Regions from separate parts of the Homo sapiens genome. Here region 2 is linked to region 1. The links are contacts of gene promoters, found by promoter capture Hi-C in human tissues and cell types (Jung and others, 2019). All regions are on one chromosome and are shown on one strand. Each heading gives the region's core, a stretch centred on a gene start or on the middle of the fragment in contact. The rest is flanking DNA. Distances are from core to core; before and after follow the strand shown.

Evidence for each region. The method cuts DNA at HindIII sites, captures the fragments that hold promoters and counts their contacts. A contact is called where the count stands out against the background at its distance.
Region 2: a fragment that was not itself captured here is called in contact with the fragment with the promoter of EPGN in region 1 in 1 of the 25 tissues and cell types used here (mesenchymal stem cells).

Annotation. Positions count from the first base shown.
Region 1 is chr4:74,302,521-74,310,129 of GRCh38, reverse strand. It overlaps EPGN (epithelial mitogen), which reads right to left and starts at 1,660. Exons shown (of 5, transcript NM_001270989.2): 1 at 1,554-1,660; 2 at 948-1,037. The coding sequence starts at 1,596. The region is part of intron 2 of LOC105377276 (a long non-coding RNA gene); the gene reads left to right. MTHFD2L (methylenetetrahydrofolate dehydrogenase (NADP+ dependent) 2 like) reads right to left here. Exons shown (of 8, transcript NM_001144978.3): 8 at 7,031-7,609. The HindIII fragment of the contact is 5,515 bases long and covers 1-3,475 here.
Region 2 is chr4:74,261,210-74,268,167 of GRCh38, reverse strand. The region is part of intron 6 of MTHFD2L (methylenetetrahydrofolate dehydrogenase (NADP+ dependent) 2 like); the gene reads right to left. Among named protein-coding and RNA genes, the nearest start is that of EPGN, 44 kb to the left of the region's middle. The HindIII fragment of the contact is 3,036 bases long and covers 1,100-4,135 here.

The DNA of each region.
Region 1 (7,609 bases), core at 411-2,910:
GTTTGAAGGCTTAGAAGACAAATAGTTGGCTAAAAGTTATTCTATAACCCACATTGATTTCGTTTTGCAAATCAACAGATATTCAAAAAATCAAATGGGTAAAATATTTCGAGACAATCATTTAAAATTTTAAATTATTGGTGACATGAAGAACACTGAGATATGACAATCTTCCTTTATTTGCCTGACTCTGAGTGCAAGACATTGTTTCCTCTGTCCTAAATCAAATTGCCAGCCTTCACATAGCAATCAGGATGCGATTTGCAGAAGAATCATAACCACTCAGTCACAGGTCTTGGTAAGCAACAAGCTTTCCAAGTTTCACCTCTAAGAGTTTAAACAGATTAGAGAAAGAACGCTGATGCTCAAGAGCATCCAGAAGCCACTGTGATAATAATTAAGTGCAAAAGAAAATATATCATTACCATCAACAACAAAAATTGGGTACAAGTGGTTAGGAAATACAGCATATGCTAAAATAACAACAAAAACTCCAAAGCAAACAAGAAAAAAAGGTCATTCCAAAGATGAGGGAAAGTGCTGTTCATCTTGTAGCCATAATGTCTTTGGCATCAAAGCTTATAATCACAGATCAAAATATAATGCTGCTCATCAAGAATGCCAAAATGGGGACAAACTGTCTCTGTACACACAGGGGTTATTGGGAACCAAGCAGAAATGAAGCAGAAAATGTGGCCTGTTTCACATTCAAGACAGTAACTGAAGACAGCTTTTGTCTCATTTGCTTAACTTCCTCCTTTTAAAAAGGCAATTATTTCCTGGCACATTTATCTGTCACTTCAATTTAACAGCATCCTGCTAAAAGAGCTGATTATCTAATAATAAAATATATATTAAAAATGGCCAATATTGCTTTTATCACAATCCAAATTTCTCTCCCAAGTTTTAGAAAAGTCTTGTGAAATATGAAAATGGGAAGAAAATACCTTCTGTTTTGTTAACTGTCCAGTTACCTTGCTGGGCTGTGATTGGAGGTGTTACAGTCACGGCTGCCTCTTCGGTCAGTGCTGTCATTGCTGTATTAAGGGGGCAAAAGCATCTTTAACAGAGAGCCTCCTTCTATGTACAAGCAACAGATGGAAAGTATTCTTATTCTGTTTATTCCAATTTCTATTTTTTTAATTTATTACAGTTGAAATCCATAACGTGACTAGGGCAACATACTTACAGTTTCTCATCCATTCCATTGACTATATTAGGATTAAAGCAAATAAAAACCCAATATTTAAGACCATTGATACATTTACATATTAATTAAAAAATAAGAACCCTATAGTATAGTAGCTAAATGTATCAATTACTCTTCAATTGTATAAAGCAAACATTCTGGAGGTCTCAAAAAAGGTGTCAAAATATATTAGGAAAGGAACATACAGGACATAAGAAACTAAATTAATCCACAGATTCATTACTCTGATCTTTGTCATAAAGAACAACTGTTAGAAGCCAACTTCTCTCTAATGCAGAGAAAATAAATTCTATTCACATTTTACACTGATATAAAGTTAACAAAACAAAAGGAAATTACCTACCGTTGAATAAAAGATAGACTGATATTGGAACTCCCAAAGCCATTTCCTGTAGTTGCTTAACTTTCTTTCTCTTATCCTTCTAGACTGACGGGTGGAAGGTTTTTATTGAGCTCTCTGAGTCTTTGTTGCATTTATATTTCATGAAGCGTCATCTGGCAGTTCTTACCAATCAAAAAAATATGTACTTCTGGCAGCAGCAGAAAGCCTCTGGGCGCTCACGCACTTGGTTAGGATACCTGTATTATCTAGCAATGTGATCAAGTTTTCTTTTGAAACACTGGTTTCCTGTTACCTGTGGGCATAATCATGTATGTAAAAGTACTTAAAACAACAAGAACAAAATGTAATTTCAGGAAAGGCTCCCATTGGTGTGAAGAGAACTATACCAGCTCAAACTATGCTAGAAACCTATACGGGAGTTCAACAAACATAACTGCAAATTAGGAAGCAGCATAACCTGTTTCTAAAAGAAATATACCTGAAACTATAGTTGGTTATACCACCTTTTATTACAGACTATAAGTTCCATTTCAAATCAAGATAATTTGTTAATTTAGTTGCAGAGAACAGTTAAATTTGTGAAAACACAGAGGTTTCATATTCCATTTTAGTGTTTGTTTCTTAGTGTTACTATGACAAGTGCTGTAAATAAAATTATTTTTAATAGTATAATATTCACCTTTCTGTCATCCTGCTATTTAACATTTTTCTGAGTAAATGAAATGGGCTGCCATATTCCAGGAACAACAATGCTTAAATCTGCATCCCAATGATTAAGCTACAGAGAACCAGTAAAGTACCAACATAATGATAATAGCAATAATAATAATATTAAAATTCTCCATTAAGAGAAAATTAAGATGACATTTAGTTTGGATACATCCAATGAATAGAAAGTTTCTAAGTTAATACAACATTCAAATTATTTCTCAAGTTCATCTAGTTGTAATTATTAAAGTGGCACTTTAAAGGCCAAAATATGTCATTACAGCTACTATATTTTACAACTACAGAAATTTTCACTTGCCCCAAATTAATATAAATGATTTATAAATATATCTTCCTGAGGCATTGAGTCTTTCTGTCTGGAATTTCAATTCCTTGTATTTTCTTGAAACTTGAAACCTCAAAACCCTAAAAACATATTCAAGTCAAGATAGGTTATCTTTTGCATCATGTCCACTCAGCAAATTAGATTTACCAGAAAGGAGCCCTTTCACTATTCAAATATAAATGTGGTGTTAGAAATCACACAAGAACAAGCTTGTTGAACTCATTATAACTTGGGCAATCACTTGCCACAGGAGTCATCATTTTAAAGTTAAAATAATATAATAGTACTTGGCTCGCTTTAAATGTGTCTACATTTTGCATTTCTACTTTTGTAGGTTTTTAAAAAACTGTTGATTACTAAGTCGATTTCTAGATAATATATTTCCCAGGCAAATAACATTTGAATTATAAATTGAACAATCGTCTTTGCACCATTGCTGAGAATTTAAAAAGAAATCATTTACAAAAGATTAAATAAACCATCACAATTCTTTTTGTAGTTTCTGGAGGGAGATGTTAGGACTCATATTAAATACTTTCTTTTTTTTTTTTTTTGAGATGTTTTCTCACTCTGTCACTCAGGCTGGAGTGCAGTGGTGCGATCTCAGCTCACTGCAAGCTCCTCCTCCTGAGTTCATGCCATTCTCCTGCCTCAGCCTCCCGAGTAGCTGGGACTGCAGGTGCCTGCCACTAGGCGCTGCTAAGTTTTTGTATTTTTAGTAGAGACGGGGTTTCACTGTGTTAGCCAGGATGGTCTCGATCTCCTGACCTCATGATCCACCCACCTTGGCCTCCCAAAGTGCTGGGATTAAATAGTTTATTTCTAAGACTGAGACATCAAAGTACAAAGATTATCTTTGTAAAAACTCTTAACTGTAGCTAGTGCAGTCCTTTGCACTTTACAGGTTTCCCTACACATCTCAATTCTTTCTTCAGTAACCCTGGCCCAAACAAATCCAGTGCCTAACATCTAGTAAATACTCAATGAATCTGTCTTCAGAGAATAAGGAAATAAATAGGCATTATTTCTATTCTCACATGACAAATGACAAATTGAGGCCCAAAAGAATTAAGTGACTTGCCAAAGGACATGCCTAGAGTCAGCACTTCAATCCTGGCCAGGTGCAGTGGCTCATACCTGTAATCTCAGCACTTTCAGAGGCTGAGGGAGGAGGATTGCTTGAACCCAGGAGTTTGAGACCAGCCTGGGCAACAGAGCAAGACCCCGACTCTACAAAAAATAAATTAGCTGGGCATGAGTTACTTGAGAGGCAGAGGTAGGAGGATCACTTGAGCCTGGGAGGTCAAGGCTGCAATGAGCCATGATTACACCATTGCACCCCAGCCTGGGCTACAGACCCTGTCTCAAACAAACAAAACAAAACAAAACGAACAAAAAAAAGGACTTCAATTCTATATTTACAGATTCTAAATCGTATGCTCTTTCCATTTACCTAGCTGTGTTCTCTTGTAGTAGTTGTTGTACTGATCTCAAAAGAATTCCCTCAATTATCTCCTAAAATCAAGCTTTAAATAAATTACCTTTATTAGAAAAAAAACTAAATATTTAATTAACTGTGATTTTCACTCACATCTGTGCTGAGAGATGGAACTGAAGCCTCTCTGGTAAACTGGGCCACTTAATATAGAAACCCATCTTCTGCTTTAGCTTATGGAGTATACCAGAAAGTAACTTTAAGTCATCAAACATGTTGCCTTTCCTCTGGGGCCCATACTCATGGCTCCCACTTAACAATCTTTACAGGAAAGTCCACTCCCTTCACATCTTCAATCCTCTCACCCAAAAGTCCTTTCTCCAAATCCTAAAGAATGGGGGGCAGATGGATACTGTAAGGTGGTTTTTCTGATATCTTTATTCATTCTTAATATGCATTAAAGCAGGTTAGGGTGAGAAAGGAGAAGGAAATGAGAGGCTAAGAGCTCCACTACTACTTTTCTCTCATGCCATGTTTCCAGTCTTTTCAATTTACTTATCTCTCTTCTTCTAGAAGTTTATGCTAGAAGAGAGAATCTCTGAAAGTTTATTCTTCCCTCCCCTTTCTATCTTTTTTTCCTGGCTGTTTCACTAACTTAACCAAAATTTATTACTGGTCATTGGCAGAGAATGGTGATCAGTTCATTGATTCTCTCTCTAAGTTTATTCTATCACTTTCATGGATTCAGTTGCATTCATTCATAAAATATTGAATGACTACTATATCCATGGCACTAGGCTGGGTGAGATGATATTTGTAAGACAAATAGAGAAATCATGCATGGATTCTGACTTCAAGGAACTAAAGGGTTCTAGGCAAAGTACATACATAACTGCAGTACTGGGTAGGGAGTGACAACTGCCATGAATGTGTGCATAAAAGCTCTGAGAGCTAAGGGCTGACATTTTTCATGGACAAGTTTCATTTGAAGTGAATCTTAAATAGCAAGTAGGATTTAGACACCTAGTAATAAGAGAAAGGACTTCGGGGTGAGGGCAGGATCTGAGGGAAGGCAGAGTGGAGTAGTAAAAGGAGTGGCTTCTGACTCACATCATCCCAACAGACTTTGTTGTGAATTCAGATTCCACCTTTTCTATCTATTTGGCCTTGGCTGAGGCTTTTTAATAACCAGGAGGGTCAATAATTTTCTCATCTATCAAGTGGAGATTGTCAATAATGAGCAAAGACAAAAAAAAAAGGCACTTTGGGAGGCCAAGTCAGAAGAATTGCTTGATCCCAGGAGTTTGAGACCAGTTTAAGCAATATAGTGAGACCCTTCTCTACAAAAAATGAAAAACTTAGCTGGGCATGGTGGCACTCGCCTGCGGTCCCAGCTACTCCAGAGGCTGAGGTGGGAGGATTGCTTGAGCCTTGGAGGTAGAGGCTGCAGTGAGCAGTGACCACACCACTGTACTCCAGCCTGGGAAACAGAGTGAGACCCTGTCTCAAAAAAAGAAAGAAAGAAAAGAACAAAAGAGGAAAGTATTTAGCACATGCTACGTGCTCAGTTAAGGATAGTTGTTACTATTGAACAAGTGTGGAAAGACACAGAGTGTGTATAATGGTTACCAAGGCCAGGAATTTAGTGTGTCCGTATATGCTGACGAGTCCTAAATTCTTATCAGTAACTATGAATTCTTATCCTCTTCCTAGACTGATATTACTTCAGAATTCTTATCTATGTATTATGTCATCACCTCAAACTTAACATATTTTAATCTGAACATATTATCTCTACTCCAAAGTCAGCTCCCTTTTACAATTTCCTCATGTTAGTCAATGATAACATCTTCTGACCTCTAACTACAATTCTCGTAACTTGCTAAATACTGCCAAATTCTGATTTATCCACTCCTCTAATTTATTTTTGCATACTTATCCAGCTGTACCACTTTCCAAAACAAACCTTTCATTTTTGTCTAATTGCAACTCTTGCTTTCATACATATATGGTAAGCTCATAATCATTTCTGTAACTTTATTATGTTCTTTAGGGCGCTCTTTACAGATACTTTACAGATACAGATATGGTAGGAGAAGAAAACCATCTCTATGCTCCTCCACAAGGCCAACATGTCTATCTTTTAAGGACTTCAAATACTTGTAAAGTTATGGTTCCAATACATTGACTTTACCTCTGTAATATGTTGACTCTTTCACCGAATCTTAGTCAGGCTCCTCTGAGCTCTCTCCCTGATCAGGTCTTGATCTAGACCCATCGAGCCCAGTTTTAGCAAAGAATCCTGTTAAGTCAGTTTATGGAGGGTCCCTCACCATTGCTATTTTATCTAGTTTCTAATCCTCTTCCTTTGATATCTAAGTCTTTGGCCTGCTGTTATCAAGCATCCTGACAAGCCAGTTTAACAAGAATCCCCCTACCCTGAATATCTAAAGGTCCTCTTAGTAATTTTTCATCCACCAACCCCCTAGCTCTGCTCATTGGCTATAAATCTCTAGCTGTCTATGTTGTATTCATAGTTAGTTCAATCTCCTTCATCCACTGCAATAGTCTTAACATCTTCTTGACTGTTTTAAACAAGTGTCAGAGTAATTTTTCTTCTACAGCATTTTAATTAGTTTATGGGAAGTCTAAATTCTGAATGTTATTCCAAAGGTACCCTTCCTGCACCTCTGTTGAGGTAGAGCTCAAAATTACAGTCTTCACATTTTCCACATACATGTATTTTAGTCACTTTATTTGTTTTGGGAGTTAGGAACCCTTAAAAATTAAAGAGGCCCTTTCTGAATGTTTGCTTGGAAACTTTAAATTTAAACTTCCATCAGGGTTATCAGACAACAATTGATCTGAACTGACTGTGGAATATGCTATATAAACTTTTCTTTCACATTTTAGAAACTTGTACATTTCTCCAGGATGTAGTAAGGAAATGGGTAAGAAATTTATATCTACAGAAAAAAAGAATACAGCTTTTCTTCAAATTGCTTTTATTATACAGTTGTAATGGTATTAATTATAAACATCAAGTCTATTTTCACACAAATCGTCACGAGTACACACTGATAAAGACATGCGCTGGGTAAGAGTCATTATTGGTACATAAACATACTGGGATTTGGGCATAAAAACACAGTATCAATTAATAGCTTTAGCAGTCTCAAAATAGACTTCAACGACATTCATATATATTTCCTAATTTAAATTGTGTTAGAAACATTGCATCTACTTTGAGGAACAAATTCTGTAACAGAAGAGGGAAGACAGGTAGGCAAGAAGGCAGGAGATTTTTAGTTGTATACTAAGGTTTAGTTTTGGCACATTGAAAGTATCATGTTTTCCTATTAGATTTCTGAATTTGTGAACAAACATTAACAGTTGCTGTTCTTTAATATGACCTCATTCATACTATATTTGTGGGAAAATACAACTTTAGTTTTTTCTGTTTACTTATTTTTTTATTTTTCCACTATTGCTCAGTGAAGGTACTAACCAAATATTTTTTAGAAGAAAGAAACGACGTTTAAACCTAACACATTCTTCATGTATTTT
Region 2 (6,958 bases), core at 1,368-3,867, 43 kb after region 1:
TCCCAGGTATCCTCCTGTTATTTCTAGAAATCCTCAAAAAGTGTTTACAACCCAGTGAGTCAGTGGCAGTGACCACAGAACATTTCCTGTTCTTTTTCTTTTCTCTGGCTTCTTTGGTTCCTATCTGAACAGATATGCCTATCATGCCTGTCATGAGAATAATATTCATGCCAAGGACAATATCTGAATGCCCCCAAAGCTTCTATTCCTTGTGGTACCAGGATGGTGCTAGGTTCCTTACAGAGCTCAGGGCCAGTAGGGCTCTGCTCTGTGCCATATTGGATCGTCTAGGGCTTTGGAATCCTCTTATATTCAGAAATTCATAGGATCATTCAAGTAGTTCCATCACCTTCTGCCTTGGACCATATTTCTGCAAAGTCAATGGACCTGTGGGGTCCAAATGTGTGCTTCTCTTTTCTTCCTCCCATCAATCAAACCTTATTCTCTGAGGGCACCTGTAATCCCAGAACTTTAAGAGGCCAAGGTGGGAGGATCGCCAGAGCCCAGGAGTTCAAAACCAGCCTGGGCAACATAGGGAAACCTTGTCACTACAAACAGCAACAAACAAACAAGCAAACAAACAAAGCTGGACATGGTGGTGCATGGCTGTGGTCCCAGCTACTTGGGAGGGTGAGGTGGGAAGATTGCTTAAGCCCGGGTGGGCAGGGGTGGGCGGTGGATTGAGGCTACAGTGAGCCACGATGGCGCCACCAGCCTAGGCAACAAAGTGATATGCTGTCAAAGAAAGAAGAAAGAAAGAAAAGAAAGAAAGAAAAGAAAGAAAGAAAGAAAGAAAAAAGAGAAAGGAAGAAAGAAAGGAGAAAGAAAGGAAGAAAGAAAGAGAGAAAGAGAAAGAAAGAAAAGAAAAGAAAAGAAAAGAATAGAATAGAAAAAAGAAATGTATTTCCTGCAAACAGACACCAATGCACTTGGGGAATGAGGAGAGACTGCAGGCCAGTAGGGACAATAGGCAAGGGTCTATATTACCAACTGTCATGTTATTCACAGAGTATTAAAGTCGAATGGAATGGGTTTCAAACATTTTAGAAACATTTATTTAAAGGAAAATTGTTTACCAAGCTCAGTGTGTAAAAGGATCAAAGCAAGGAGAGGTATATTAGTTGAAAAGAGGTAGAGGGGAGCTCTGCTACCAGCCAAATCCCTTTAGGTTCCCCAGAGCTCAACTTGAAAAACCAATTAGTCCAATTTCTTTCTTTTAAAGATGTACCTCCTGAAAGCCAGATAGTCTAGATAATACAAAGAAATGAGGCCTGATATTTAGAAAACAAATTACTTTTTTACAATCCCTAGTATTCCCCTCTTATGCAGTCTTAGATTTTCCCTTCTCCTACAACCTTTAAGCATTCTAGCAGCAGCTAAGGCATTCAGTGCTGATTGACTCAGAAAAGTGATAGACAGGAGAGAAGTGGAGACCTTACTTCTTAGCTTCAAGATTTCAAAAGCCTAGCACTTTAGAAGAACAGAGAGACTCAAACAAGAAAATGGAAGGGTTGAGTTCGAAAAGTCAGGAGAGTTGGAGAAGTGGTGAGAGCTTAGACTTCAGAGGTTCCCAGGGAGATGTTGCTAGTCAATGCTCCCTGGGCTGTGTCTTGGAGAACTGGCAAAATCCCTAGTTTTGGTTTTGGAAATCCAAAAACAAAAATATATTTTTCCTATAGCCTGTGTAGTGGTTGGAAAGGTGGTATGGTCCCAAATAATTAAATAGATGGAAGGATGGCTAAAGCAGATGCCTTAGACACTGTCTTAGCATTTCCTGTGTACCTAAGGATGACAGGGTAATAGAGAGATTAAAGCAATTGGGCAAAAAGGAGCACTTCTGCAAGTGCATGTGTAGGCAGTTGGACAAGGACCAAATCAGATGATGACTAGCTCATTTGATGAGAGTTTAGAAACATAATAGTGAAAACTAAATGCCCCTACCATGTCTTGATACTTATATGAAACCTCTGGAACAACATAAGAGTCCACATAGATGAAGCTTGAGTTTCTGCTATGTTCCAGTAACTTTCAAAGGTTGTAATGAAAAAGTCAATAAAGTTTGAGAAAGGAGTGCTTAATGGATGTGTACAGATACAATGGTCTGAATCATTGGTTATCAAATTACTGAACTGTTCTAAAAATTAAATCAGATATACAAATATCAGAATCTAACACATAAATAATTGACTTCAACATATTTAAAGCACTTTGAAAGAAAAATTAAATGGTGCTTTGTTTGTTAAAAGAAAAAAAGTAATGACGTCTCCACATCTGCAAATTAGGCAAACTGCATTTCTTCTTCACCCATCATACAAAGTATTGCTCTCGAAATCTTGCTGGACAAATGTTGATATAGAGAATATTAAGCTTAGCAAATCATATGATATACCAAAGTACTATTTTACAATGTATTTTAATATTATTCATGACAAAAATAGTATGCATGACAAAAATACTAGCCATGGCAATTTTAAGTGCTTGTCTAGGTACCTTTGTTCCTTGGCTAAAATCTAAGGCTCAAGTTCAGATTTCAGGTTTTCCAGCTTAATAACTCAATAACCTTGGACAAGTGTCCATGTAATCCTGTTTCCTTCCCTGTATAATTGCGATAATAGTAGTCCTTCATAAGACTGGATAGAGAAGTAAATGAATAATGTATATAAAGTGTGTAGCACATTGCCTGGCACATCAAAAATATCATAGCCAATCCACACTGAGAGTATGCCACAGTTATTCACACATTATTAAGAGGTCTTGCACGTTTCCACTTACCCTCTGCCATTTCTGCCATGGCCATGAGAAGGTCATATCTGGGCCTGTATGCTGGTCTCTGGATAAGGATGAGACACGTGTGGAGCAGCTACAGTGCATCACACAAACCCACATTAGAGCAGAGCCCTGGCAGACTTGCAGACACATAAATAAGCCAGTTGAATTACAAACAAATGAATGAATCAATCTGAGATTAGCTGAGCTCAGCCTAGTGTGTCAATCCCCCACCAAACCATAGATGTGTGGGTTAGAATAATGATGACTATTGTTTTAAGCCACTGAGTTTTGACATGATTTCTTCCACAGCAATAGCATGAAGTAAAAAAAAAAGTTCTTACTCTCAGTTATAACTAAAATACTTGAAATACGGGTTATAAATTGATATATACTCATCAATTGAAATGTGTTACACATGTACAGTGAATTTGTTTTCCAATAGATCTTAATATCTCCACATGTGATAATATGGAAGGTTTCTTATTACTCCTTCAAATCACTGTACACAAGAACTTCTCATTCATAATCCCAAATAAATCAATTTACTTTTTGTTTCTAGAAAATTAAATAACATATTAAGGTATAGAAACAAATAACAGAAAGTAGTAAAAAAAGAAAAGAAATCCATTAATATTAACGCTGCTGAAACTCAACCAATAATAAGCACTTTGGAATATTTACCTCAAGTCTTTTTTTTTAAGTTTGTACTTAAAAATATTAAAACAATTGAACTATAAATTCACTGCCCTTAAAAATATTAGAATAACAGATATAGATAAAGCATCTCTCAAACTTAATCCTCATTCTTATCTCTTACTAAGTGGATATATATTCTAACACTCTAATTTTTTCTCATTCCTTTATCTATATTATGCATCCATGAAATATAATATATATATGAAATATTGAAATGTTTTTAAAGCATGGTAATCGAATAAGGGAGAAGCACACACTAGATGTAAGTTACTTGGAATAGTCTAGTTCTTGGGTTGGAGGGGTTGAGTACATAGGTATTCATAATTATGTCATTATGTTGACCATATATTCTGTAAGCTTGCTAATTTATAATTTTAGTAGGTTTTTCATAGATTACATTAGATTTTCTAAATAGATAATCATATATGAAAACAAAGACAGTTTTACTTCCTCCTTCCTAGTCTGTATACATTATATTACTTTTCTTTACCTGATGGTATAGAATAGGACTGCCAATACAATGCTGATAGATGTGGTGGGAAGGAAAATCTTTGTTTTATTCCTGATCTTAGGGGGAAGCATTCATTCTTTCACCATTAAGTATGAAAACTGTAAGGTTTTCACAGATGCCCTTCATCAGGTTGGGAAGTCCCCTTCTATTCCCAGTTTGCTGATAATTTTTTTTTATCAGGAATGGATGATAGATCTTGTCAAATGTGATTTCTGAGATTATTAAGGTATTTTTATTTTTGTTTGTTTTAGTTTGCTAATATGGTAAATTACATGGACAGATTTTCAAAGGTTAGACTAATCTTAGATTTCTGGGATAAACCTTATTTGGTCATGATGCATTGCCCTTTTAATATACTGAATTATGCAGGCAAGAGAAAGAAATAAAGGCATCTAAATAGGAAGTCAAACTATCCCTGTTTGCAGATGACATGATCCTATATTTAGAAAACCCCACAGTCTCAGCCAGAAAGCTTATTAAGCTGAAAAACAACTTCCTCAAAGTCTCAAAATACAAAATTAATATGCAAAAATCACTAGCATTCCTATATAACAACACCAGTCAAGAGCCAAATCAGGAATGAACTCCCATTCACAATTACCACAAAAAGAGTAAAATATAATACCTCAGAATACAGCTAATTAGGGAGGTGAAAGATCTCTACAAGGAGAACTACTAACCATTGCTCAAAGAAATCAGAGATGACACAAAAAAAATGGAAAAACATTCCATGTTCATGGATAGAAAGAATCAATATCATTAAAATGGCCATACTGCCCAAAGCAATTTATAGATTCAATTTATAGATTTTAGAATGTTGACATTCTTCACAGAACTAGAGAGAACAATTGTAAAATTCATATGGAACCAAAAAAGAGCTCAAATAGCCAAGGCAATCTTAAGCAAAAAGAACAAAACTGGAGGCATCATGCTACCCGACTTCAAATTATATTTACAGGGTTACATTAACCAAAACAACGTGGTACTGGTACAAAAACAGACACACAGACCAATGGAACAGAATAGAGAACGTAGAAATAAGACAGCACACACACACACATAAATATACATACATATGTATACATATATACACATATATATATAGGATTACATTTGGATTAAAATTTTGAAACTACTAAGGTGTAACTGACATACAGAAAGCTGTCCATATTTAATGTAAACAACTTGGTGAGTTGAGAGATAAGTACACACTCTATTCCTCTATTGGTGAATGTTTTAGCTGCTTTCAATTATTTACTATCACCAACGAGCTGTAATACAGATTTCTGAATATACAGGTCAGGTATTTTTAGATATGTGGAAAAATAATGGAATCTCTAGGTCATATGAAGTGCACATTTTCAGATTTCATAACATTGTCAAATTACCTTCTAGAGGGACTATAATAAAGCATAACTTCATCAGCAGCATATGCAAGTATGTGCTTCCCTGGATCCTTGCCAACATTTGATATCATCAAGCTTTTCATTTTTTGCCAATCTGATGTGTGCAAACAGTGTCTTGTTTTGCTTTAATTTGCAATTGTCTGATTATCAGTGACATTGAGCAATTTTTACATGTGTATTAGCCATTTAAATATCCTTTCCTATAAATTGTTCTTTTAAAAGTTAGGTTTTTGTATTTTCAACCATATTTTTAAAAACATATTTATATATGCTGCATACTAATTCTTTGTTATGTATAATGCAAATATTTTCTCCCAATAAAATGCTAAAATTTTAACTCTAAGAGGCACTTGTTCCATAGATTTTAGGAATTATATATATATACCTCCAGCTTTTCTGTTTATTTTTACTCACATATTTGTCTGTATATTTGTGTGTATCTTTTCTAAGAAAATCCTACCTGCTCTAAATTTATGACCAAGTTCTATTAAGTTCTCCAATAATTTTTATTTTTGTTGTTTTTAATTTATGTTCTTTATCTCATCTGAAATATATTTGTATGTATGGGGTGAGTAGGAGTTTAACTAGATTTTTTTCCTAAATGGGAAGTCAAATGTTTTAATACTATTGATTGAAGTATTTAGTTTTTCCCCAGTGTTTAATGACACTACCCTATTTACATAGATTCACACATACGAATGTGTGTTTGTTTTTTCATCCTTCCCCATTATTTGTCTTTTCTTATGCCTATGCTTTAATTTTAATTACCAGTTCTTTATAATATGATTTGAGACAGAATAAAATACTACTCTGTTCATAATAATTAACATTTGTTGAGTCAGTCAGCGTTCTAAGTGCTTTACACGTATTATCTCTATTTGACCTTAGAACAATATATGATGTAGATGTTATTATCCCTACTTCGGAGGTAAGGAAACTGAGGAACAGAGAGCTTGAGTAACTTATAACTTAGGTAGCAAGCTCACACAACTTGCAAGTGGGAAAGCTAAGAAGCAGAAGGAAAAAGTCTTCTTACGCTTTTTCTTCCAATTAATCTTTATTCTTATAAATATGTGGATGCTAATAATAATTACAAGTTGCTAGGCATAATTTTGAACTATTTCAAATAAATCATGACATATGGTCACATTATTTATAAGATAATGCTTTTGTGGAATAAATCTTTCCACTCCTGTGCAAAATCATGAGCCTTTGGATGGTATGGAATTTATTGCTTTATTTGGCAATAATAGCATTCTTACGTGAATAAATTCTCCCACGCAAAAACATGGGTTAGAGCTCTACTTGCTCAGACTTTTCCCTTTGATTATATATTTGAAAAGTTCTTTCTATATTCTTGTTTCTGTTTAGTTTTATTCCAATGAATTTTATAGTTTTATTACTACTGTGAGTGGAATATATTTTCTATTACATTTTCTAATTATATATTATTGATATCTGTAGATACTACCTACATTTACGTTGTTATTGTATTCAGCAACCTTGCTGAACTTTCTCATTAGTTCTAATATTTTATCAGTTGATTATCTTGAGCTTTATGGATAAACTATCATAC